Linked DNA regions of Homo sapiens: all the other regions are linked to region 1. Evidence: promoter capture Hi-C in 16 types of primary human blood cells and fetal thymus (Javierre and others, 2016). All regions are on one chromosome and are shown on one strand. Each heading gives the region's core, a stretch centred on a gene start or on the middle of the fragment in contact. The rest is flanking DNA. Distances are from core to core; before and after follow the strand shown.

Evidence for each region. The method cuts DNA at HindIII sites, captures the fragments that hold promoters and counts their contacts. A CHiCAGO score of 5 or more calls a contact.
Region 2: a fragment that was not itself captured here is called in contact with the fragment with the promoter of FAIM in region 1 in 1 of 17 cell types (M0 macrophages); the score reaches 5.8 in M0 macrophages.
Region 3: a contact is called between a fragment that was not itself captured here and the fragment with the promoter of FAIM in region 1, in 4 of 17 cell types (activated CD4 T cells, total CD8 T cells, naive CD4 T cells and 1 more). The highest score is 8.7, in activated CD4 T cells.
Region 4: a contact is called between a fragment that was not itself captured here and the fragment with the promoter of FAIM in region 1, in 4 of 17 cell types (megakaryocytes, neutrophils, erythroblasts and 1 more). The highest score is 8.4, in megakaryocytes.
Region 5: a contact is called between a fragment that was not itself captured here and the fragment with the promoter of FAIM in region 1, in 11 of 17 cell types (naive CD8 T cells, activated CD4 T cells, total B cells and 8 more). The highest score is 9.5, in naive CD8 T cells.
Region 6: a fragment that was not itself captured here is called in contact with the fragment with the promoter of FAIM in region 1 in 17 of 17 cell types (total B cells, naive CD8 T cells, total CD4 T cells and 14 more); the score reaches 24.1 in total B cells.
Region 7: a contact is called between a fragment that was not itself captured here and the fragment with the promoter of FAIM in region 1, in 16 of 17 cell types (M1 macrophages, total B cells, total CD8 T cells and 13 more). The highest score is 12.2, in M1 macrophages.

What each region holds. Positions count from the first base shown.
Region 1 is chr3:138,606,997-138,610,675 of GRCh38, forward strand. It overlaps FAIM (Fas apoptotic inhibitory molecule), which reads left to right and starts at 1,775. Exons shown (of 6, transcript NM_001033031.2): 1 at 1,775-1,941. RefSeq lists a silencer at 1,863-2,322 and an enhancer at 2,423-2,512. The HindIII fragment of the contact is 4,797 bases long and covers 1-3,356 here.
Region 2 is chr3:138,107,162-138,110,840 of GRCh38, forward strand. The region is part of intron 1 of DZIP1L (DAZ interacting zinc finger protein 1 like); the gene reads right to left. Among named protein-coding and RNA genes, the nearest start is that of DZIP1L, 6.6 kb to the right of the region's middle. The HindIII fragment of the contact is 959 bases long and covers 1,216-2,174 here.
Region 3 is chr3:138,206,007-138,209,685 of GRCh38, forward strand. All of the region lies in intron 1 of ARMC8 (armadillo repeat containing 8), which reads left to right. Among named protein-coding and RNA genes, the nearest start is that of ARMC8, 21 kb to the left of the region's middle. The HindIII fragment of the contact is 2,140 bases long and covers 892-3,031 here.
Region 4 is chr3:138,978,056-138,981,734 of GRCh38, forward strand. No RefSeq gene overlaps it. Among named protein-coding and RNA genes, the nearest start is that of PRR23A, 26 kb to the right of the region's middle. The HindIII fragment of the contact is 4,943 bases long and covers 1-3,679 here.
Region 5 is chr3:138,960,340-138,964,018 of GRCh38, forward strand. No RefSeq gene overlaps it. Among named protein-coding and RNA genes, the nearest start is that of FOXL2NB, 15 kb to the left of the region's middle. The HindIII fragment of the contact is 2,097 bases long and covers 1,005-3,101 here.
Region 6 is chr3:138,903,714-138,907,392 of GRCh38, forward strand. The region is part of intron 1 of LOC124906289 (a long non-coding RNA gene); the gene reads right to left. Among named protein-coding and RNA genes, the nearest start is that of LINC01391, 38 kb to the right of the region's middle. The HindIII fragment of the contact is 8,530 bases long and covers 1-3,679 here.
Region 7 is chr3:138,886,932-138,890,610 of GRCh38, forward strand. It overlaps the pseudogene ATP5MC1P3. Among named protein-coding and RNA genes, the nearest start is that of PIK3CB, 54 kb to the left of the region's middle. The HindIII fragment of the contact is 5,394 bases long and covers 1-3,679 here.

The DNA of each region.
Region 1 (3,679 bases), core at 525-3,024:
GCCCACTCAACAACTTTTCTCGCTCTCTGTAGGCAACACTGTCTCCTCCTTAAATTGAAAATCAAGGCCACCTAAGACACTACCCAGGCCTGCTCTTCATTCATTCATTCATTTAATAAATATTTACCAGAGCTAACATGGGCCTGCACGGTACAGATGTGAGACATACAAGAATGAGAGCCAAGCGGCCATGGTCTCTGCCTTCATGGATCTCAGTCTACTGTTAAGTTACACATTAAGCAAAAATTACACAAATTATTGCACACCCTGAAAGGGGCTAGGAAGAAGAATCCCTGGTGCTGCAATTTTTGTGTTTTTTTTGTTTTTGTTTTTGAGACGAAGTATCACTCTGTGGCTCAGGCTGCAGTACAGTGAGGCGATCTCAGTTCGCTGCAACTGCCACCTCCCAAGGTCAAGTGATTCTCCTGCCTCAGCCTCCTGAGTAGCTGGGATTACAGACGCATGCCACCACGCCCGGCTAATTTTTGTATTTTTAGTAGAGCTAGGGTTTCACCACGTTGGCCAGGCTGGTCTCAAACTTCTGACCTCAGGCAATCCGCACCTGGCCTCCCAGAGTGCTGGGATTACAGGTGTAAGCCACTGTGCCCGGCTGTTTTTTTTTTTTTTTTTTTTTGAGACAGAGTCTTGCTCTTCGCCCAGGCTGGAGTGCAGTGGCTCAATCTCAGCTCACTCCAACCTCCACCTCCCAGGTTGAAGCGATTCTCCTGCCTCAGCCTCCCAAGTAGTTGGGACTACAGGCATGCACCACCACGCCCCTCTAAGTTTTATATTTTCAGTAGTGACGGGGTTTTGCCATGCCTGCCTCAGCATCCCAAAGTGCTGGGATTACAGGCGTGAGCCACTGAGCCCGGCTGTTTCTTTTTGTGTGTGTTTTTTTTAATGAAACAGGGTCTCGCTCTGTTGCCCAGGCTGGAGTGTAGTGGTGCAATCACAGCTCTCTGCAGCCTCTACCTCCCTTCAGGGCCCAAGCAATTCTCCCACCTCAGCGTCCCAAGTAGCTAGGATTACAGGCCTGAGCCGCTAATTATTTTCTTTTCTTCTTTCTCATTCTCTCTCTCTCTTTTTTTTTTTTTTTACCATGTTGCCCAGGCTGGTCTTGAACTCCTGGACTCAAGAGATCCGCCACTCTGCCTCCCAAAATGCCGTGATTACAGGTATGAGCCACCACACCCAGCAATGCTGCAAGTCTTATGGGCCAGGATAGTGTAATCTAAGAAATGATATATGAAGAACTCTCACAATAGGGAAGAGGTGAGGAGTGTCCAGGCAGAGAGAAGAGCATTTGCAGAGGCCCTGGGCGAGAAGAAACCTGCATCCTTTAAGGACCTAAATGAAGCCAAGCAGGCAGAGGCTAGATCACACATGGGGGCTTCATGCCCACCTTAAGTAGTTTGGGTCTTTAAAAAAGGAATGAGACTCATAAAGAGGTTTTAAGGAGCGAATGCTATTGCTGCCATGAACAGATATTCCTTCCCCATAGCTGCAGAGCAGGCACAGGGCTGTTTTTGCCCGCCAGTATGTCCCCACCGTCTAGCCCAGAGCGGGGCCAGCGGCCGGCTCCTACCCACACTTGCTGGCAGGAAGACTGGACGCACTGCGGGACATGGTGATGTCCTGGGTTGGGGCTGAGGAAGGCCTATGCGCGGAGGGTGCGGCCTTCGGCTAAGGCAGAGGACCAGGGTTGGGTCCGTGGCGGCGGGAGGGGTGGCCTCCTGCGCTGGTCGCCCCAGGGGACCTGAGAGGCGCGACAAACAGTCGGCGCGTTTGGTACTCGCGCCTGCAGAGCTTTCAACCTCCGCGCCGGCTGCGCCTGTTTCTCGGCCAGGGGAGCAAGGCCACGCGGCCTACGCAGCCGAGTCGGAACCAACCGGTTGTTTGGTGAAACCTACCCCAGAGCCTCCCGCGGCCCACAGAGCACAGGTGAGGCAGCAGACCGGGTGGGGTCGGTGTCGCGCCTGCGCCCGCCCGGACGCCTCGGGCCCGCCCGCTCCGCACCCTGGAAACCCCTGCACTCAGCCCCCCGGCGTCCCCACGCTCTCGGCCCTGCTGCGCCGGCGGCGGCCATCTCTGGGCGGCGGCGGCGGGCGGTGTTTGCGCGGTCGGTGAGACCCGCGCGGGTGAGACGCTGGGTGAGTTCCGGACGCTTCCAGCCGGCCCGCCGGTGATCCCAGACCTCGGGGCGGGACGCGGCTCCCGCTCACCGCCGGCAAAGGTGGAGGTGCGGCGGGGCGCGGGGCGCGGGGCCAGCCCGGGGCGGTGCGGGGGCGTCCCTGCCTAGCGAGGCCCTGCCCCGCGACCTGCCGCACCCTCCTCCGGCCTGTTCGCGACCTCTAAAGATAATACTTCTCACTGTCGAAAACGTGGAACAGAAAGCAAGGAAGCAAGCAAAGCAGCCGTGCCGCTGCTCCCCAGAGACAAGCTGCGTTAACATGAGGGTGTATATTCTTCCAGATGGTTTTTCCTTGTAACATGAGCGGGGCTTGTTTTTGCAGAACCTGCATCATAAAGTGCTGAAACTCTCTCTCTCTCTCTCTCTCTCTCTCTCTCTCTCTCTCTCTCGACTCTCTCTCTCTCGACTCTCTCTCTCTCTCTCTCGACTCTCTCTCTCTCTCTCTCTCTCTCTCGACTGTACATTCCTGTGTGTCAGGTTGACTACCTCATCCATCCCTGACTCTTGGCATGGCTTTGGACTGTGATTTACTAAATGTAGTTTCTCCCTGATGGTGAGCGTACAAGTGGTTTTCAGTTTTTAGTTATTGCAAAAAGTAATTCATTGAGCATCGTTGTATCTGGGTTTTTGAGCGTGATCATTTCTGTAGAAAGAATCGCACAAGATTCGTTCTAAAACAAGATAGAATCCACGGTCTATACCACAAGGCTTCTGGTATAGATTGTGAAATGGCCCTCAGAAAAGTTATTCTCCTTTTTGTACCTCCAGTAAGTAGCATTTGGGAATACTTGGCTCGAGGAGCTTCCTGAGTGATTTTACTGGAGACCCCCCTCACTTCATAAGGGGCCGGCCCGGAGATGAAGATGTCAACACTTGAGTGTGACTTGCATTATTGGCTGGCCCTACCTGGGGGCCTTTGCTGAAAAGGGAACCATGAGCATCTTAGTAACTACTATCATCTAGTAATTTTTAAACTGACTTCGGTTTATCTTGAACGAACCATTTCAGTCCCCAGTAAGAATAAACCTAAGTTAAGGCAAAATTCAGGTGGATTAGATGAACAGTGGCAACGTGTTGGTGTTTAAGTCATGCTCTGAAACTTAGGTGTTGGGTTGCTAGGGAAGGGATTTTAAAAGATTGATGGGTACGTATGAGATACGCAAAAAGCTTTCTTTAAAGACATGTAAAAAGTTTCAAGTGCTTGGTATCATCTCCATCAGTGAAAGTAAGTGGAATATGGTTTTTCATCTTTTTAAATTTACATTTTAATAAAATATTTGCAAAAATAGAGGGTTTTTTGTATTTATCATTTTCCAGTTTGGTCATAGAATCTTGAAAATTAAGTACATGCATAAGAGTTTAAAAACAACAGTGGATTAATTTCTTGCTCCCAAGTTTCATTTTTTTATTTTTCAGACAGAATCTCCCTCTGTCACCCAGGCTGGAGTGCAGTGGCATGATCTCGGCTCACTGCAACCTCCACCTCCC
Region 2 (3,679 bases), core at 445-2,944, 500 kb before region 1:
GCATCCCCCAAAGGTCATATGTTGAAAACTCAATCCCCAATGCAGCAGTGTTGAGAGATGGGACATTTAAGAGGTGATTAAGTCACGAAGACTCTGCCCTCATGAATGGATGAATGTCATTATTGTAGGAGTGGGTTAGTTATCACAGGAGTAGGTTCCTGATGAAAGGAGGAATTCAGTCCCCTTCCCTCTTGCTCTTATGCTTTCTTGACCTTCCACTCTCCACCAGGAGATGATGCAGCAGGAAGGCCCTTGCCCAATATTGGACTTCAAGCTTGATATTGGACTTGATATTGGACTTAAGCTTCCAGAACTGTGAGAAATACATTTCTTTTCTTTATAAATTACCCAGTCTGTGTCATTCTGTTGCAACAGTACAAAATGGATGAAAACAGGAGACCAGATTTGAAGTGTAATTGTAGGTTCATCTGGCACCAAAGCTTATGGACTCTGAACCACTCAACATTGATTCTTGGGGCTATTCCTCCTAAAATATTGCTTTGATCAGATTATCATCCTTTATCCCTTAAACCTCCAATTCATCCATTTACTCACTCCTCATTTATAGTATGCCTATGTGGGCCCAGCCCAAGCTCAGGTCCTGGGCTATGGAGCCATATTAACCACACAGCTGCTCCCCACCCTGGAGCTCAGCATGGCTCCCTATTCCCACTGTACCAAACGCAAACCTCTCAGCCTGGTCTTGAGACTGCCTACAGGATGCCACTGGCCCACCTTTTCAGTTTCAGATCCATCCTTCCCTTTCTCAGATACTCTTTCCCAACAAGTACTCCAAAAAGAAAACCAGCCTGACATAAGCACCCCCACCATGGCCATGAGAAGACTAGCACATTTCTGCCATGTTATGAAACAGTGCAGTGGCGCGATCTCGGCTCACTGCAAGCTCTGCCTCCCAGGTTCACGTCATTCTCCTGCCTCAGCCTCCCAAGTAGCTGGGACTACAGGTGCCCGCCACCATGCCTGGCTAATTTTTTGTATTTTGAGTAGAGATGGGTGACATGATACTCACCATGCTTAGCTCCAAAGCTGCAACTGTGCCACCAGAGCCTCAGAGACGACTACTCACAACAAGCTGTGCCTCGGAGCAACAGCAGGTTACCAGGCATGCTGTGGGCAAGGGTAATAAGACACCTGCTTCCTGATGTCCCAGCTCTCAGGTGAGCTCACCTGAGAACTGCACTGTTTAACTATTTAAGCTTTGGCGTCAGATGTTTGCCAACAGTCCTCTCTCTAATAATAAAGTCAAGAACTCTCCATCAGCCACTCTCTCTCTCATCTCTCCTCCTACCTTTTTGAATGCTCTTCCTTAAACAGTGGCTATTCTTTCCCCTTTCTTTTATGACAGGGTGTGCCACTGCCCCCTTGATATTCTGCTATCCACCTGCAACCCATTTCTCCCTGCACGCTATCCCTAGGAATGAGCTCACAGCTTCAGCTACTATAGGCTTGCTCTAGGCTGAGCCTCAGTCACCCCCAAATCTCTTTCTCTCTAGCCCCTCGGTCTCTTGTGATCTTATACCCAACCATTCCATACTGATAATGCCAGGAATTGCAAACCCAAGTTCCACCAGGGCCAGAAAAGTAACATTAAATGCACAAAATGTAGCAGATATGAAAGAAACCACAGTACATGTGTGATGATAAATGGCAACTCATTCTCCATCTTATTGTCCAAGGTACAATAAGGCAGTGGTTCTCAAAGTGTGGTCTCTGGACCAGCAGCATCAGCATCACCTGGGAATTTGTTAGAAATGCAGATCCCCAGACTTACTGATTTAGAACCACTAAATCTGTGGAGTGCTGGGCTAGGAAACATTAGGGATTGTGGCAAACCTGAGAGTGCAGGCCCTGTTTAAGGTGGGAAACCACTATTGAGCTCCAGCCACAGGGGAATGGATTTTGTGTTCCTTATTGGCTAATTCCAAATACACTGAGTGATATTCAAAGACTTTGATGAACTGCTTCCAAAAGTACCTCTCTAGCTGCATCTCCCATTTACCATATTACTTGCCTTCCACACTTTCACACTTCTGGGCTGTTTATTTTATGTATAGACACTGTTTTTAAATGCTTTACAAAGAAGCACTCATCTATTTCTCAGGACAAGCCCTTGAGGAGGTACTATTATCATCTAAGCCACAGAGAAATAAAGAAGCTTGCCCAAGATCCAGAGGCAAGATTCACACCCAGGCAGCCTGGCTCCAGTCTGGGCTAGCCTCTATTCTATGCTGCCTCTTGGTATAGATGGTCCTTTGCCACCTCCTTTTGTTCCAATTAAAGGTTGACACATGTTTCAAGGCCCTGCTTATAAATGATTACCACCATATGGGAGTGTAAATTAGTTCAACCATTATGGAAGACAGTGTGGCGATTCCTCAAGGATCTAGAACCAGAAATACAAATTGACCCAGCAATCCCATTACTGTGTAGGTACCCAAAGGATTATAAATCATTCTACTATAAAGATACATGCACACATATATTTATTGCAGCACTATTAACAATAGCCAAGACTTGGAACTAACCCAAATGCCCATTAATGATAGACTGGATGAAGAAAATGTGGCACATATACACCATGGAATACTCTGCAGCCATAAAAAATAATGAGTTCATGTACTTTGCAGAGACATGGATGAAGCTGGAAATCATCATTCTCAGCAAATTAACACAGGAACAGAAAACCAAACACAGCATGTTCTCACTCATAAGTGGGAGTTGAACAATGAGAACACACAGACACAGGGAGGGGAATATCACACACCGGGCTTCCTGATATCCCAGCTCTCAGGGCTTAAAACCTAGATGACGGGTTCATAGGTGCAGCAAAACACCATGCATGTATACCTATGTAACAAACATGCACGTTCTGCACATGTATCCCAGAACTTAAAGTAAAATTAAAAATAAAATAAATAGATCCCATTTGTCTATTTCGGCTTTTGTTACCATTGCTTTTGGTGTTTTAGTCATGAAGTCCTTGCTGGAAACCATCATTCTGAGCAAACTATCACAAGGACAGAAAATCAAACACGGCCTGTTCTCACTCATAGGTGGGAATTGAACAATGAGAACACTTGGACACAGGAAGGGGAACATCACACACCAGGGCCTGTTGGGGGATGGAGGGCTGGGGGAGGGATAGCATTAGGAGAAATACCTAATGTAAATGACGAGTTAATGGGTACAGTAAACCCACATGGCACATGTATACATAATGTAACAAACCTGCACGTTGTGCACAGGTACCCTAGAACTTAAAGTATAATAATAAAAAAAAACTTCCCACAATAAAATAAATAAATAAATAAATGATTATCACCATAAATCCCTGCTACGCTCACAGTCAAAGTTCCCTGCCCCTCCCCTGGGCTTCCAGAGCGCACAGCATACACTTTGTCTGTTAGGGTGTCTCTGCAACATTCATATCTCCATCCCATCAACAAATGATTCCTGAGGCCCTACTAAGTGCCAGGCATCATGACTGGCACTCGGGATCAATGTTGACCTGGGCAACTATCCCTGCCGTTGTTAATAAAAATAGTTCACATTTCTGGAATTCTATTATTTTCCATACACAGTGCTAAGGCTTTACATGTATTATCCCACTTAATTCTCACAACAACCTATTATGCAGATGAAGAAACAGAGTGTGATC
Region 3 (3,679 bases), core at 712-3,211, 400 kb before region 1:
TTAATGTTATTTAAACAAGTAAAGCAAAATATTATTTCAATATATCTGTGTAATAAGTTATTACTGAAATTTGTTGCAAAAATAGCAAGTCTTCAGTATCTGATGTATAGTTTATACAATTTGGATGCTAAATTTTTATTGGAAATACTTGATTCATATTTAGGTGTCATAAAGTTTATAGTTGAAAATGTAAACTCATATACCCAAGTAGTTCCAAATCATTCTTAAAAGTTTTAAAATAACTGAATCCAGTATTGGTTTTTTAATTTTAATTAAAGTTTAAAATATAAACAAAATTCACTTCCTAGCCACATTTCAAATTTCAATTGCCATATGAGGCTAGAGGCTGGCTTACTGGACAGTGCAGCTCTTTACCATCTGGCGCCTGTTCTCTGCCTCATCTCCTGCTGCTTTCTCCTTTGCTCATTCTGCTCCAGCTATAATGGCCTCCTATTCTTTGATTATGGCAGATACTTCTCATTTTAGGGCATTTGAATTTGCTGTTCTTTTTGCCTAAAAAAAGCTCTACCCCTAGGTAGGTGCACAGTCTGCTCCTTCACCTTCTTTAGGACTTCGCTCAAATGTCACCTTTTTAGACGTTCTTTCTCTTATCAACCCATTTAATATCTGTACAAATTGCCTTCTCTCCCTACCTCTTATATTTCTAGGCTGCCTTCTGAAAGAAGAGAGAAGAGGACTGGGAGGGGAGAGGTGACCTGATCTACAAGGAGCAGTGAAATATCAGAATTGTCCTATACAGATAAATGAATACATTAGACAAAAGCGTAGAGTAAGATAAGGTTGAATAAGTGATCATACCCCTTCAGCTTGCTTGCTGTCTGAGCAACTTATATGATTATTTTTGCGTATACATAACAATTTCAGATACTAAGCTTCTTAAATGCAAGGCTCTGCCTTAATGTCCTCTTATACCTTCTTTGGCATCTAGCATGTAACTTTGACCAAAAGGCAGTGTGAAATCTCCAATTGTGGTCCACCTATTGGTTAGCCTTTTGTGTTTTACATCCTGCGGTGCCTCTCTATCCTCTGTTCTTTTCAGTGCCAGCAACTAGTATACTTGCTGATTGTTTACTTGTATTGGCTTTGCATGCCCTGTGGCAATGATTGTGACATTGATTCTTTCTTTCCTTGTCCATCCTGGTACACTCTTACTCATTTTCCAAAGCCAATTCCTGAAAGAAGCCTTCCCTGATTCCCCTGGTTTACAAATGTCCTCCTCAGTGCCGCCTTTATGTTGTGTATACTATAATTCTTATATTCTAATAGGGAAATAATCATGTAAACATAGTAACAAGAGAATATGAATTCTTGAGAACAGGGACTGTGCCTTGCTTATCTTCTTTATTAAAGATAAATTTATTTTTAATGCTTTCCTCAGTGCATGTTATATTGAATGAACCAGGCACAGAGCAGCAAAAGAATTGCTATTAATGGGGGAAACTTATGTTAAGATACACATCATTGAGAGGTAAGAGATGTGGAGCTATAGACAGTAAAGATAGAACAGTAACATCAAAATCAATCTCTGGATAGGAGGGTCTGAGGTACTTAGAACTTACTATGTCAGAAAACCAGGAAAACATGTACTCAAATGGAGTGGCAAAACTTACCTGTTTGTATTATAGTAGTGCTTTTTTTCAGTTCTTCTGTAGCTTTTGGTTGTCATATATTGTTTCTTGATATGTTCGTACAGTTATTTGTGTCCTAACTGTACATTTGAAGATCTGACAAATGGGTAAAGATCATGAGAAGCCCCATTTGTAAACCGAGGGATTGAGCAGATTATTGTTGAGAGTCCTTCTAACTCTGTGATTCTGTTATTTTGAGGAAAACATGTGTTAGCAGGTGCTTTAATGGTACCCTGGTGGGCACAAGAATTTTCACCACTTTTGCCTCTTTGCTTCCACTGTTTGTTCTTTAAAAATGAAGTACATGCTAAAAGCAAGCATTTGAGCTGGATGTAGTGGCACATACCTGTAGTCAAGTTACTTGGGAGGCTGAGATGAGAGTATTCCTTGAGCCCAGGAGTTTGAGATCGGCCTGGGCAAGACGGCATCTCTGTTTTTTTTTTTTTGTTGTTGTTGTTGTTTTAAAGGAGGTATTTGAGTTGCCTTTGAGGATATTTTGGTAGCAAATTCAGAATACGAAAATATGTGTTGGCTGGGCACAGTGGCTCATGCCTGTAATCCCAGCACTTTGGGAGGCCAAGGCGGGCGGATCACGAGGTCAGGGGTTCAAGACCAGCCTGGCCAACATGGTGAAACCCCATCTCTACTAAAAATACAAAAATTAGCTGGATGTGGTGGTGCGCGCCTGTAATCCCAGCTACTCAGGAGGCTGAGGCAGGAGAATTGCTTGAACCCGAGAGGCGGAGGTTGCAAGTGAGCCAAGATCATGCTGCTGGACTCTAGCCTGGGCAACAGAGCGAGACTTCGTCTCAGGGGAGGGGGGAAGAAAATATATGTTGACTTAGTTAACTATATTATCAGAAAACTAGAGTTTGTGTAGTTCTCCAGAGTTATTTTTGGTGGCTCAAAAGTTTTAAGCTGGTACTGTGTCTTGGTAATTAACTTTTACTGATTTGGAGTTCTGAGTAAATTGGAAAAGTTATTTCTTCCTCCCTATAAGAACTTATTGCTAACGGCGGGGGAGTATATAAAGATATTTCAGCAGGCATCAGAAAAAACAAGCAGGGGACAAAACTTTTTCTCTGGTTCTTAAATATGGATTCTTTATTTTAAATAATATGAAGCATCAAAAATTAAATATTAAAAAAGAGTTACCCTCCAAAATAAGTATTACAAGAAATAACACAATAGAAAAACTTCACAATACAAATGAAAAGGAGGTAAGTGTCTTCCCTTTGTACTCTTTCTAATTCTACCCACCCTTATCCAGTTCAGTTGAGACAGCTTGGGTGGCCTACAGATCACTCTAATTCTTAATTGTTTTCCTTCACAGAAAGTGTGACAACTCCTTTATTTATTTTTACTTCTGCCTCCAGCAATGAAGCTTCTCTACATTAGTCTAAGGATTTCCTCTTGTACCTAGACTACCCCTTACAGACTGTTTCATGGAGTCCTCACTCTTCCCTGGCTGAGAGCCAGATTTTGTCCTTTTGTGTATACTAATTTATAGAAGTAATATTCCTATCTATTAATTATACGTACATGACACCCAGCAGTTAGTGAAGAAACTTAGCTTGCTGCTAAGTGTATATGCTAACATATTTGCCTAGGTCTTCTGTTGGCAAAACTTCTAGGGCTCGCCACAAAGGTCCCACTGTCTAGCTATGTGTTTAGTGAGAACTAGGAGTCTTCTTTCTTTTCTGTCTTACTGTTTATCTTTGTCATGAGCTTTTTTTCAGACTAATGTAATAAAGTATTTACAAAAATATACTTAATATCTTCCTGATGATTCTTCTGAATGAACAAAGTGATGTGCTTTGTAATTACGTTGATTTTCCAAACTCTCCTGCTAGTTTTAAGACATAGTAAAATGTATACCATGGACATTCTTACTTTTGAAATTGGGCATTCTTAGAAGAAAAATATTGATCTTTGACATCTTGAACTGAACACTACAGTTTCCCATTATTTTGATACCTGAGAGAGAAAAGTCACCTGCTTAAGTATCCCATATCATGAGGAGGCAAAAC
Region 4 (3,679 bases), core at 365-2,864, 370 kb after region 1:
CAACCTGATGCTCTTTTCCAGTGGTTTCTTGAGGGGACAGCAAACTCCTTATCCTTATCCTTGTGGATCCCTAGGGCCCTGTGGAGCACAGTTTAATACTACCCATTCCAGAGTTTAAACTAAGATTCTATAATTTTAAAATAATCTAAGTATGACAAATGGACCAATAAGCAAGTTGTGAACCAGAATTACTACAAGGGGTAGGAATAGCTCTGTCTTTAGAGTCAGACAGGCCTAAGTTGCTACTGCCTACTGTGTCACAACTTCATGCTTAAACTTCCAGAACCTCATGAAGACGGGGTCATTACTGCCTCATGCCATTGGTGTGAGCATCTGTGCTAAAGTCTAAATCATCAGTAAAGACTGACACAGAGTCAATACTTAATAAGTGGTAGCTCATTTGACTCAGCAATCCCATTGCTGGGTATATATCCAAAAGAACATAAATTGTTCTACCATAAAGGCACATACACGCATATGTTCATTGCAGCACCATTCACAATAGCAAAGACATAGAATCAACCTAAATGCCCATCAGTGGCTGACTGGATAAAGAAAATGTGATACATATACACCATGGAATACTACACAGCCTTAAGAAAGAATGAGATCATGTCCTTTGCAGGAACATGAATGAAGCTGGAGACCATCATCTTTAGCAAACTAATGCAGGAACAGAAAACCAAATACTGCATGCTCTCACTTATAAGTGGGAGAAAAATGATGAGAACTCATGGACACAAAGAGGGGAACAACAGACATTGGGGCCCACTTGAGGGTGGAGGGTAGAAGGAGGGAGAAGAAAAAAATAGCTGTTGGGTATGACACTTAGTACGTGGGTGATGAAATAATATGTACAACAAACCCCCGTGACATAAGTTTACCTATATAACAGACCTGCATATGTACCCTTGAACCTAAAATAAAAGTTAAAAAAAGTAATAATTATTATATTTTTATTGTTGGATATGCCCTATGACACTAGCCTGTTCAACATTTTGGGGAGTCAAAGGGGTGACTAGAGAATAGAGGAGAGGAGGGAGAAGAGAGGGTACTCATGGGAGGAAGGAGGAACTTTGCTGTTGATAAAAATCACACCCATAACAATTTATTGAGAGTGTCTATGAGCTGGTACTGTGTATGGAGATTATAGCAAGTCCCTCTTGCAACACTCCCACACTGCTGGCTACTGTGTTCCTTTTCTTTTTTCTTTTTTTTTTTTTGAGATGGAGTCTTGCTTTGTTGCCCAGGCTATAGTGCAGTGGTGCAGTTTCGGCTCATTGAAACCTCCGCCTCCTGGGTTCAAGAGATTCTCCTACCTCAGCCTCCTGAGTAGCTGGGACTACAGGTGCGTGCCACCATGCCCGGCTAATTTTTTGTATTTTTAGCAGAGATGGGGTTTCACCGTGTTAACCAGGATGGTCTCGATCTCCTGACCTTGTGATCCGCCCGCCTTGGCCTCCCAAAGTGCTGGGATTAAAGGCATGAGCCACGGCGCCTGGCCCTGTGTTCCTTTTCTTACAGGGTGAAAACTGAAGCTCAGAAAGCCTTGGCAATTGTCCAAATCTCCAGGCCTGTAAGAGGACCTAGGACTCAGCTGTCTGATGTCAAAGTCTAGGCTCTCAGCCCCTAAGGGTCACATGTCCCCAAATCTGAGGTGAAGAGTGCCCTCCTTCTGAGCCAAAGATGGCCTCGATCTGGAGATCCACATCTTGTGCTGGGGGGAGCCTGCTACAGCTGCCAGTTGCAGTGCTGGAGAAATCCTTCCTGTCACAGTGTTGTGTACAAAGCCAGGGAATGATTTGGCCAGTTTGGGTGATCCCAGCTTTTCTGGTTCTAAGCCCAGATTCTAAACTCTGGCTGCACACTAGCGCCACCTGGGGAGCTTTGAAAAACTCACACCACCCAGGCCACCCAGGCCACCCAGGCCACCCAGGCCACCCAGACCAATGACATCAGCATCTCCTGGTGGGGCCAGAACATTAGTATCTTGTTAAATTCCCTGGTGATTCCAAAGAGCATTCAGGCCTGAGGACCTCTCAGAAAGGAAACAGCTGGTTCTGGAGCTCTCATTCCCTTTCACCGACGGGCTGGGGTGGGGGCTGGGAGTGAAGGAGGAGTTTCGAGGCAGGAATTGTGCATGGGTTAGTAAAAGGGGAGAGATTAAAGACTGACAAAGAATGTGTGGGGTGTGCGACATGGAAGCTCAGACAGATTAAGTACCGGATTCGGAGTGCACACAGGGTCAGTGGCAGAACTGGGAGTCATCACATTGAAGTGGTGCCAAAATGACTGGGATCTTTGTTACTGGGGAGACCCCACGCTCAGTGGTGGAGTTTTCCAAGACCCAGTTCTGCACCTGATTCTCTTCCCAACCCATCTTCTCACTCAATGAACTTTTGAACTTTGTTCACACCCAGGGCTTTCATCACCACCTGACTCTCAAATTTTTGTTTCCAGTCATGGCTGGTCCTTGGACCCTCAAACCCATATATGCAGTGACTCACTTGACATTTCCACTTGGATCATGCCAAGACATCTAGGGCTTCACATGGCCAAGACTAAACTCATGTACTGCCTTTACCCCCAACCTGGTCCTTCTGCAGATTCCCAGGCCTGGGGACCAGGAATCATACTTGACTCCAACACCTCTTCCTCTACCTGTCTTCTTAGCTTTTAGTACCTTTTAAGGACCTGTTCATCTTGGCCTCTTGTCTTCATCTTCATTGCCGCCTCATTAGCCAAGCTACCATCATCTTTGGTAATTAATTCTTTTAATTTTTTACTTTTTGGTAGTTTATTTTTGCTTACATGATTATTTGATTATGTCTGCCTCCCCCACTAGCTTATACACTGTGTAAGGGCAGGGACTAGCTTTTTTTTGTATCCTCAACATCTTACTTGGCCCCTCAGTAAATAGTTGTTGAGTGAATAATCTGTTTTAAACTTTTTATTCATTTTGAGGGCTGTTGATATAATCACTGCTTCATTATGGCTTGCTGCTTTCAGGACGATGAAATCACGAAGCTGAAATCAGAACGATGTGCTTAGATGACTTTGCATTCCATGAAGTCGGGGAGCATAGAGGTTTTGTCTATGGAGGTTGATCAAGGGGGTCTGAGGGAACCACATGATGTGAGCTGAGACATGGACACACGACATGGCAGGTGAGTGCACACACACACTCACAACCATCCTTGGGCAGCCCTTCTCTTACTTCCTTGCTCAACAGACGTTATCTTTATTTGGAGAATCAATTGTGAAATCAATCCCTCACTATTTCTCCAATAATGCAGCTAATAAAAAGAAAAGCTATTTTGATGGTGTCTGGTTTTCAGCTAAAAGGTGGGTCAAAATAGCAATTTTATCAGCTGCCCTTTGAAAGTGCTTCTCTTGGTCACAGCAGTTCACAGGGAGAAACACGATGATTCTGACACCATTCTTGATATTAGCTCCTGCCTGAGGTAACATATTGTGTTACCTCTGAAACAGGGCATCCGTGGGTAGCCAGCAAGGTCAAGTCAAGATTATATCATGCCACCATGTCATCAGAACATGGCTCAGTTCTCCCCTATCACCTGTTCCAGTGAAATACTGGCCAAAATGGTGTGTCTGTGGGATTCTGGCAAAAGTGGGCCATGGGAAGAAGCCCCAGGCCCTGGGCTTTTCATGCCCTTTC
Region 5 (3,679 bases), core at 803-3,302, 350 kb after region 1:
GTGAGGCAGTAGCATGAAGAGGCGGGAAATTCAGGATGGGAGAGGGCTGCAGGACAAAGACTGCGGGCAGTCCGGCCGGGTTCCTGGGTGGAGGAAGGAAGGCACGTTTCCCGGTGTTGTTCCAGGCCTGACGGGTGTTCAGGGTGTAGGACTCAGGGTGTAGGACGAGCGTGGCGCGTCCCTCCGGACCGGAAGCGGGGCTCACCCCAGCGACGGGGGGCTTCCTCACTTTCGTACCGCGCTCCTTCCCCGCAGAGGCCCGCCGGAAGCGGCAGCCGGCGATGGGGACCAGGGCCCGGGACAGGCGGGTGATGTCTTTCCTGGAGGCAGCGATGCAGGAAGCCCGCGGGGAGCCCCGGCTTCGCCGCTCGGGGTTCAGGTGCACGGGCACAGACGCGCAAGCCCAGAGCAGCTCCTGAGAGCTGGGGTCCTGCACACTGGTCACCTCGCCTTCCTCCTGTCTTCCTGATGCCCGATGGCTCTCCCACGCTGCAAGCTCCCATTGTCACTTTCAGCCAAGTCCTGGCCAAGTCCAGTAAAACCAAATGTTTTACTGATATTTCTCCATTTTTCCTGCCTGGAAGGGGACTTCTTTTTCTTTTTTCTTTTTTGAGACAGGGTCTCCCTCTGTTGCCCAGGCTGGCGTGCAGTTGTGTGATCATGGCTCACCGCAGCCTTGGCCTCCTGGGCTCAGGTGATCCTCTGACCCCAGCCTCAGCTTCCGGGATAGTTGAGACTACAGGCATGCACCATTACACCTGGCTAATTTTTTGTATTTTTTTTGTAGAGACTGGGTTTTGCCATGTTGCTCAGGCTGGTCGCGAACTCCTAGGCTCAAGGGATCCACCCACTTTGGCCCCCCAACATGCCTGGGAGGGGATTTCTGTTAGGATCCCACTAGATTTTTTTTTTTTTTTTTTTTTTTTTTTTTTTTTTTTAGCTCTGAGGGCTTTGTAGCAGGATGCTTGCAAACTTTAAACTATATCTGCCTTCTGGGAGGAGGAAGCTTCTACAACGTAAGTGGGTTTACTTGAGATTGACTATCTCCCAAGGACTGCCTTTAGCGCCACCCCCTGGTTGGTAGAAGTTGTCATTCATGCATTTGAGTGAACGTGTGTATCCAGGGCACCTCCTCTTTATACGCCCCGTGCTGGGCGTGAGGATTTGGAGAAGGGGAAGGTCTTGTTCTTGCCCTTGGGGAGGTACAGTTTAGTGGGGAGTTGGATAAGTAAACAGACAAAAGCAGTTTACTTTGATAAATACTGTGATGGGGGAAGGTTGAGGCTGTGGAAACATGGGAAGTCTTCCTGGAGGAGGTGATACTGGGGCTGCGTCCTGAGGGATGCGTAGGAGCCAAAGAAGGTGTGGGGAAGGCATTCCAGTAAGAGGAAGCATGTGTGTGAAGGCCCAGACCTGAGGTTCCTTCCCTCACAGGGAGAGCACCTGTGGCTGGGGTTGGCAGTACCCAGTGTAGGAGAGGTGTGTCAGGCAGCGGGTCATGAGCTCGGACAGGCTGACAAGGTCTATATCACTGAGGGCCTAGGGTGCCTCCTTGAGGGGCTTGGACTTTACCTTGAGAACATGAGGGGTGTAAAATGGGAGTGAAAGAGAGGTTTTATATGTTAAGAAGATGAAGGTGGCTGCAGTGTGGAGGATGGAGGGAGGGTGCTAAACCTGAAGCAGAGTCCAGGTGAGAGAAGATGGGCCTGCAGTAAGGAAGGGGCAGGCAGATGGAGACAAGGGTCCACCTGGAGAGACATTTAGGAGATGGGATCTATGAGTCTTGACGGCTGATTAGGTGTGAGGGTGAGGGAGGATTGAGCACCTCCCAGTTTTCTGACTTGGTCTACTAGGCATAGGTTGTGGCTACCCTGAGACGAGGAAGGCTCGAGGCACAGGTTTCTTGGGAACATGATGATCTCTGTGTGGAACACATTGCATTTGAGTGCCTGAGGGACATCCAGGGGGAAATGTCTTGGAGGCAGTTGGACATGCGGGTCTGGACTCAGGAGGGAGGTTTGGGAGTTCTTAGTCTACAGATGAGACAAGATGAAGTCACTCAAGGAGGGTGTGGAGAGACAGAGAGGAGGAGAACATTAAAGAAAAGAGATACGTAGAGTTGGGGGAAACTAAAATGATGGAGCAGGAGTAGCTGAAGAAGCAGAGGTGGCCAAGTGTGTAGTGCCACGGAAGCCTTGGGAAGATAGTGGTTAGGGTCCACTCAGAACCCTCTCCAAGACCCACCTTCTCTGGCTTCCCAGGAGTTGGGTGCTTTGCCCCCCTATGTGGTGATTGGTACAGAGAGACTCCGTCTCTGTGATGGTGAAAATTTAGGTGATACACTGTAGACTAGTTGCTTGTCAAAGATGGGAGTCTACTTATGTGCTTTAAATGCTCTTAGTTATAATTATTCTTACTAGTTGTCAGTTACTTTACAAACATTATCTCATTCAACCTTCAAACAACTCTTTTCAGATAGATATTATTTTCTCACTTTACAAATGAGGAAATTGTGGCTCAGAGAGGTTAAGTGTCTTCCCCAAGACCACATAGCTAGTTAGAGATGGAGCTGGGATGTGGAGTCAAGTATTCTTGCTTTACATGCCTCAAGTTTTGTTTGTTTTTTTTAAATGCCTTATGCATTTTTTCTTTAGTGCACATTCAGCAGTGGCTGCCTCCTGCATTGGCATCTGGGCCTGGCCTGCTTGCCCACACCCTCCAAGCCTCCAGGCCATGGGGACTTCAGAAGAGGCCTGTATCCCAGATTAGCCCCAAAGACAACATGCTCCTTAAGAAGAAAGAGGAGGCCCAGGCACAGCCAAGGCCTGTGATGGGAAGGGCTTCCCGGGAATCAGTGGGGAACTTCCTCCTGGGAAAGCCATGAGAGGGGCAGTTCCTCTCCTGGGCCAGGCGTCAGGGAGTCAGGGCCCCAGCTGTTCCTGCCCAGCCGCCTGCAGCCCTGAGCACCCACCGGAGACAGGAGGCCCTGCCTGCTCACTGCCCATTGTCCCAGCACCACAGTGCCGCTTCCCATGCGCCTCCTGTTTACACAGGAAGCCCTGCTCTGGGATGCCACCTCCCTCTCCTGACGGCTGGCCCCAAGCTTGAATTCCTCACAGGCAGCTTCAGTGAGCGAGGGCTAGAGTAAGTTATCACTGCTCAGTGACTTTAAAAATTAGTAAAGCAGAGTGGGTAAAAGCATGGTCTTGCAGTGTGACTGCCTTGGATCTGAACTTGGCCACTCATTAACTGAAGCACTTTGGGTATTCATGCCAACGGTATGAACGCAGATTCCTCCTCTGTAAGATGAGGAGTATTATGCCTACCTATCTCACAGGTTTTTCGTAAGGATAAACAAAATATGGAAGTAAAGTGCTTGGAACATAGTATATGCTCAATAAATTACACATCTCACAGTTGTTATTTACCTCTTATGTTTAGTTGCACCCAATTTTAGCTGCACTCCAAATGCTGGTGATAGTTTAAACTATGACCTCCAAATTCTGTGACACTCCTCCCATTGAGAGGCGGGGCCAATGCCCACTTCCCTTGAATCTGGGTGGGCTTATAACTACCTTGACCAATGTGGTACAACAGGAGTGACACTGTATTAATTCCAGACTTTGTTTTGGTTGCTAGAACATTTATACTTGGAGCCTGGAGCCACCGTATAAGAATC
Region 6 (3,679 bases), core at 430-2,929, 300 kb after region 1:
TGAGGCAGGTGAATTGCTTGAGCCGGGGAGACGGAGGTTGCAGTGGCCAAGACTGTGCCACTGCACTCCAACCTGACCCACAGAGCAAGACTCTGTCTCAAAAAAAAAAAAAATTTGAAGCAGATTTTATTTTATGGAACTGTTTAGACTTATATAAAAATTGAAGATATAGGCCAGGCGTTGTGGCTCACACCTGTAATCCCAGTACTTTGGGAGGCTCAGGCGGGTGGATCACTTGAGTTCAGGAGTTCAAGACCAGCCTGGCCAACATGGTGAAACCCCATCTCTACTTAAAATACAAAAATTAGCTGGGTGTGGTGGCGTGCACCTGTAGTCCCAGCTACTTAGGAGGCTGAAGCAGAAGAATCACTTGAATCCAGAAGGCAGAGGTTGCAGTGAGCCGAGATCAAACCACTGAACTCCAGCCTGGGTGAACAGAGTGAAACTCCATCTCAAAAAAAAAAAAAAAAAAAAAGAAAAAATTGAACATATAGTTACCCCTTTACTCCACTCTGTTTCTCCTATTATTCCTATTATTAATCTTATGTTAGTATGGTCCATTTGTTCCAATTAATTAACCAATATTGACCAATGATTATAAATGAAGTCCACAGTTTATTCAGATTTATTTATTTATTTTTAAATTTAGGGACAGGACCTTCCTCTGTCAGCCAGGTTGGAGTGCAGTGACATGATCATGGCTCATTGTAAATTCAAACTCCTGGGCTCAAGTAATCCTCCTGCCTTGGCCTTCCAAAGTTCTGGGATTATAGGTGTGAGCCACTGCACCTGGCCCAGATTTTCTTAAGTATTTTTTTTTTTTTTTGAGCTGGAGTCTTGCTCTGTCACCCAGGCTGGAGTGCAGTGGTGCGATGTTGGCTCACTGCAACCTCCACTTCCCAGTTTCAAGTGATTCTCCTGCCTCAGCCTCCTGAGTAGCCAAGATTACAGATCCATGCCACTATGCGCGGCTAATTTTTGTGTTTTTAGTAGAAACGGGTTTCACCATGTTGGTCAGGCTGGTCTTGAACTCCTGACCTCGTGATCCGCCCGCCTTGGCCTCCCAAAGTGCTGGGATTACAGGCGTGAGCCACTGCGCCCAGCCGATTTCCTTAATCTTCACCTAATGTCCTTTTTGTAATCCCGGATACCATTCAGTGTATCACACTGCATCTAGTTATCATGTCTCCTTAGGCTCCTGTTGGCTTGGGGTGGTTTCTCGGATTCTCCTTGGTTTTGATAACCTTGACAGTTTTGATGAATATTGGTCTCGTATTTTGTAGAATGCTCTTCCATTGGAATCTGTCCAATGTTTTCAATGTTTTTCTCACATTTAGACTGGGGTTATGGATGTTTTTTTTTTTGGAGATGGAGTTTCACATTTCACTCTGTTGCCCAGGCTGGAGGGCAGTGGTGCAATCTTGGCTCACTGCAACCTCTGCCTCCTGGGTTCAAGTGATTCTCCTGCCTCAGCCTCCCAAGTAGCTGGGATTACAGGTGTCCCCCACCACACTTGGCTATTTTTTTTTTTTTTTGAGACAGAGTCTCGCTCTGTTACCCAGGCTGGAGTGCAGTGGCGGGATCTTGGCTCACTGCAACCTCCTACCTCAGCCTCCTGAGTAGCTGGGATTACAGGCTCCCGCCACCACACCCAGCTAATTTTTGCATTTTTAGTAGAGACAGGGTTTCACCACGTTGGCCGGGCTGGTCTCGAACTCCTGACCTCAGATGATCCACCTGCCTTGGCCTCCCAAAGTGCTGGGATTACAGGGCGTGATCCACCGTGCCTGGCTGGTGGTTATAGGTTTTTGGGAGGAAGACCACATATTCATCACATCATATCAAGGTACATACAATCAACATGAGTCATCACTGTTGATGTTGAGTTTGGTCACCTGGCTTCATCAGGTTTCGCTACTGTAAAGTTACTTTTTTTTCGCCCTTTCCACAGTGTTCTTTTTGGAAGGAAGTCACTATGCCCACTCCTTAAGTGTGGGAGTTATGTTCCACCTCCTTGAGGAGTATGTCAGCTTCCTAAGGCAATGGTGACAAAGTACACAAACTGGTGGCTTAAAAGAACAGAAATGTGTTCTCTCATGGTTCTAGAGCAGCAGTCCTCAACCTTTCTGGTACCAGGGACCAGTTTCATGGAAGACAGTTTTCCCACAGATGTGGGGACTGGGGGATGGTTTTGGGATGAAACTGTTCCACCTCAGATCATCAGGCATTAGTTAGATTCTCATGAGGTGTGTGCAACCTAGATCCCTTGCATGTGCGGTTCACAATAGGGTTCACGGTCCCAAAAGAATCAAATGCTGTCACTGATCCGACAGGATGCAGAGCTCAGGCAATGCTCATTCACCTGCTACTTACCTCCTGCTTTGCAGCTCGGTTCCTAACAAGGCATGGACTGGTATTGGTCCTCAGCCCAGGGGTTGGAACCCTTGTTCTAGAGGCTAGAAGTCTGAAATCAAAATGTCAGCAGGGCTATGCCCTCTCTGAAGGTTCTAGGGGAGAATTTGATCCATGTCTTCTGTCTTAGTTCACTTTATGTTGCTATAACAGAATACCTGAGACTGGGTAATCTACGAAGAACATAGACTTATTTGTTACAGTTCTGGAGGCTGGGAAGGCCACGTTCAAGGGCACTGCATCTGCTGAAGGCCTTCTTGCTGCTCATTCCATTGTGGAAGGCAGAAAGACAAGAGAATATGCTTGAGAGAGAGAAGGGAATGGGGGTCAAATTTATTATTTTATCTGGAACCCGCTTCCAAGATACCTAACCAACTCCCACAATATGGTATTAATTTATTGATGAGGGCAGAGCCCTCATGACCTAGCAATCTCTTAAAGATCTCATCTTTCAACACTGGTATACTAGGGATTAAGTTTCCAACACATGAACTTCGGGGACAACTTAATTTCTGGTGCCGCTGGCAACCCTTGGCCTTACAGACACATCATCACTCCACTCTCTGCCTCTGTGGGCACATGACGCTCTCCTTCTGTTCTCTTTGTCTTTGTCTGTGGCTCTCCTCTTCTTATAATGACATCAGTCGTACTGGGTTAGGGCTCACACTAAATATCTCATTTTAACTTGATTCTACCTGCAAAGACCCTATCCAAATAAGGTCACAGGTACCAGGGTTTAGGCTATAACATATCTTTTTGTAGAACACAGTTAAATCTATAACAATAGGGGAGTATCTATATACATTAATTTTTAATTTTTTTTTTTTTTTTGAGACAGAGTCTCACTCTGTCGCCCAGGCTAGAGTGCAGTGGCACGATCTCGGCTCACTGCAAGCTCTGCCTCCCTGGTTCACGCCATTCTCCTGCCTCAGCCTCCCGAGTAGCTGGGACTACAGGTGCCTGCCACCACGCCCGGCTAATTTTTTGTATTTTCTAGTAGAGACGGGGTTTCACCGTGTTAGCCAGGATGGTCTCGATTTCCTGACCTTGTGATCCGCCCACCTCGGCCTCCCAAAGTGCTGGGATTACAGGCATGAGCCACCACGTCTGGCCTAATTTTTAAATTATTATTATTATTTTTTGGAGACAGGGTCTTTCTCTGTTGCCCAGACTGGAGTGCAGTAGCGTGATCTTGGCTCACTGCAGCCTCGACCTCCCAATCTCAAGCAGTCCTCCCACCTCAGTCTCCTGAGTTGCTGGGACTACA
Region 7 (3,679 bases), core at 406-2,905, 280 kb after region 1:
ACTTTATTTTATTTATTTATTTATTTATTTATTTATTTAATTTTTTGAGACAAAGTTTTGCTCTTGTTGCCCAGGCTGGAGTGCAATGGCGCAGTCTCGGCTCACTGCAACCTCTGCCTTCCGGATTCAAGTGATTCTCCTGCCTCAGCTTCCCAAATAGCTGGGATTACAGGGGCCTGCCACCACACATGCCTACTTTTTGTTGTTGTTGTTGTTAGACAGAGTCTTGCTGTGACACCCAGTCTGGAGTGCAATGGCGAGATCTCAGCTACTGCAACCTCCGCCTTCCAGGTTCAAGTGATTCTCCTGCCTCAGCCTCCCGAGTAGCTGGGATTACAGGCACGCGCCATCATGCCTGGCTAATTTTTGTATTTTTAGTAGAGACGGGGGTTTCACCATGTTGGCCAGGGTAGTCTCAATCTCCTGACCTCGGGTGATCCACTTGCCTCAGCCTCCCAAAGTGCTGGGACTACAGGCGTGAGCCACCATGCCTGGCCCTAATTTTTGTGTTTTTAGTAGAGATGGGGTTTCACCATGTTGGCCAGGCTGGTCTCGAATTCCTGACCTCAGGTGATATGCCTGCTTTGGCCTCCCAAAGGGCTGGGATTACAGGTGTGAGCCACTATGCCCAGCCTATTATATCTTTTATATCACTTTAAATTTGTGTTATCTTTTTTTTTTTTTTGAGACATTGTCTTGCTGTGTTGCCCAGGCTGAAGTCCAATGGCACGATCACAGTCACTGCAGCCTCAACCTCCTGGGCTCATGCAATCCTCCCACCTCAGCCTCCTGAGCAGCTGGTACTGCAGGTGCTGCCACCATGCCTGGCTAATTTTTGTTTTTTTGTTTTTTTTTTGTAGAGATGGGGTTTCGCTATGTTACCCAGCCTAGGTGCTTAAATATTACCAACAAGTAGAAAACATAACAACAAAGTTATAGTGACTTTTAAATTTTAATTTAATTTTGTTATTATTATTATTACTATATATATATATATATTTTTTTTTTTTTTTTTTTTTTGAGATGGAGTCTTGCTCTGTCCCCAGGGTGGAGTGCAGTGGTGCGATCTAGGCTCGCTGCAACCTCTGCCTCCCGGGTTCAAGCGGTTCTCCTGCCTCACCCTCCTGAGTAGCTGGAACTCCAGGCACGTGCCACCACGCCCAGCTAATTTTTGTATTTTTAGTAAAGACAGGGTGTACCATGTTGGCCAGGATGGTCTCAATCTCTTTTTTTTTTTTTTGAGACAGAGTCTCACCTATCGCTCAGGCTGGAGTGCAATGGCGTGATCTCAGCTCACTGCAACCTCCGTCTCCTGGGTTCAAATGATTCTCCTGACTCAGCCTCCCGAATAGCTGGGATTACAGGTGTACACCACCATGCCCGGCTAATTTTTTGTATTTTTAGTAGAGATGGAGTTTCACCATGCTGGCCAGGCTGGTCTCGAACTCCTGACTTCGTGATCCGCCTGCTTCAGCCTCCCAAAGTGCTGGGATTACCAGCGTGAGTGACCACACCCGGCCGGTGTCGATCTCTTGACCTCATGATCCACCTGCCTTGGCCTCCTAAAGTGTTGGGATTACAGGCATGAGCCACTGTATTATTTTTTTTCTAAGAGACAGGGTCTCCCTATGTTGTGTAGGCTGGTCTTGAACTCCTGGGCTCAAGGGATCCTCCTGCCTTGGCCTCCTACAGTGCTAGCATTACAGGCGTGAGACACCATGCACAATCTATGTTGTAGAAACTTTAAAAAAAGAAACCCTCATGTCCTGCCCACATTCCCACTCAACAGTCTCACTACTGCAGTACAAGAGTCATTTTATTTCTACATACTTCCCTTCAGCAGGGATCATATACAGTCATATTTTTGCCTGGCTTGCTGTGGTGGAAAGTTTCACATGGTAATACAATCATTTATCATAAAGGTGAATTTTTCACTGCTCTATAAAGATGACTAAAGAAAGCAAGGTATAGCTGAACCAGAACGGGCATTCAGAAAACTCTGACAGCTGTTGTCCCAGCCTTGGGTCTAAAACAGGTTAACTTAGTTGTATCTTCTGTAAAAGGAAATTACTGGAGGAAGTTTGCTTAACATAACACAGCCTCTTAGCCAAAGCACCAGAACTGAAAACTAGGGTTCTAAGTTCTGGATTCCCAGTGCAGTATTTGTTCCACCAAGAAAGTCGCCCCCTTGCCCCGCCTTTTTTTTTTTTTTTAAAAAAAAAAAGAGAAACGTGTTTAATGGTAAAACTCAGCACATGCCAGCACCAGGAATGTTATGGAGTTGTAGCAGCAAGGGTGAGTAGGTGACCCCCATGGAGCTTCACATGGCAAAGAGGATGAGGAAGGTGACTGTCAAACAGAAGAGTCCCATGGCCTCAGATAGGGCAAAGTCCAGAATGGCATAGAAGAGCTGTTCCTTGAGAGATGGGCTGATGGCATAGTGAATGATCAAGTTGCCAGACACCATTGCTATGCCAGCCCCTGAGCCAGTTACAATCGTGGGTTGGGTGTGGTGGCTCACACCTGTATTCCTAGCACTTTGGGAGGCCCAGGCAGGCAGATTGCTCGAGCTCAGGAGTTCACGACCAGCTTGGGTACATTGCAACACCCGGTCTCTACAAAATATCAAACAATTAGCTGGGCATGGTGGCATGCATCTGTAGTCCCAGCTACTCAGGTGGCTGAGGTGGGAGGATCGCTTGAGCCCGGGAGGTTGAGGCTGTAGTGAACTGTGATTGTGCCACTGCACTCCAGTCTGGATGACAAAGTGAGACCCTATCTCAAACCAACCAACCAATTGTGATTGCCCCAGCATCAATAAACTTGGCTGCTGTGTCAATGTCCCAGGAGACAACACTGGTCTGGAACTCCTATCTGGCCACGTGGAGCGGAGAGCTGCCGTAGGAAAGCTGTTTGGATAAATTATTTGGCCTATTCAGAAAGGAGGCAGACACAGACCTGAGTAAACCCCTAGTACTACAGCAGATCAGAGCCTGAGAAATGAGTAGTGCCCCAGGGGTCTGCATTTTTTCAGTCTGCACTCCCACTGCCCTGCATCTCCAGCTTGGCCCACAGCATTCACCCTGCCCAAGATGACTTAGAAGTTGCAATTTTCTAAATGCTGATGTGTTCTCTGATCAGAATCTTCCTCTGAGTGGGCACAGCAGGCTTCTGTTCCCTGGGCAGGGCAGAGGAATTCTTGTCCTTGGATGTAAAGAAAATAGGGAAATCTGCCCAAAGAATTAGCTGTGGTTCTTAATGCTCAGGAGTCTTCCTGGTTCCCCTAACTTTCCTCCAGAGTTCTATTTTCTTTCTTTCTTTCTTTCCTTTCTTTCCTTGCCTTCCTTGCCTTTCCTTGCCTTTCCTTGCCTTCCTTGCCTTCCTTGCCTTCCTTGCCTTCCTTGCCTGCCTGCCTGCCTGCTTTCTTTTCTTTCTTTCTTTTTCTTTCTTTCTTTCTCTCGCTCGCTTTCTTTCTTTCTTTCTTTCTTTCTTTCTTTCTTTCTTTCTTTCTTTCTTTCTTTCTTTCTTTCTTTCTTTCTTTTTTTCTTCCCTCTCCCTCTCCCTCTCTCTTTCTTTCTTTCTTTTTTGAGACAGAGTCTTACTCTGTTGCCCAGGCTGGAGTGCAGTGGTATGATCTTGACTCACTGCAACCTCTGCCTCCAGTTTCAAGACATTCTCC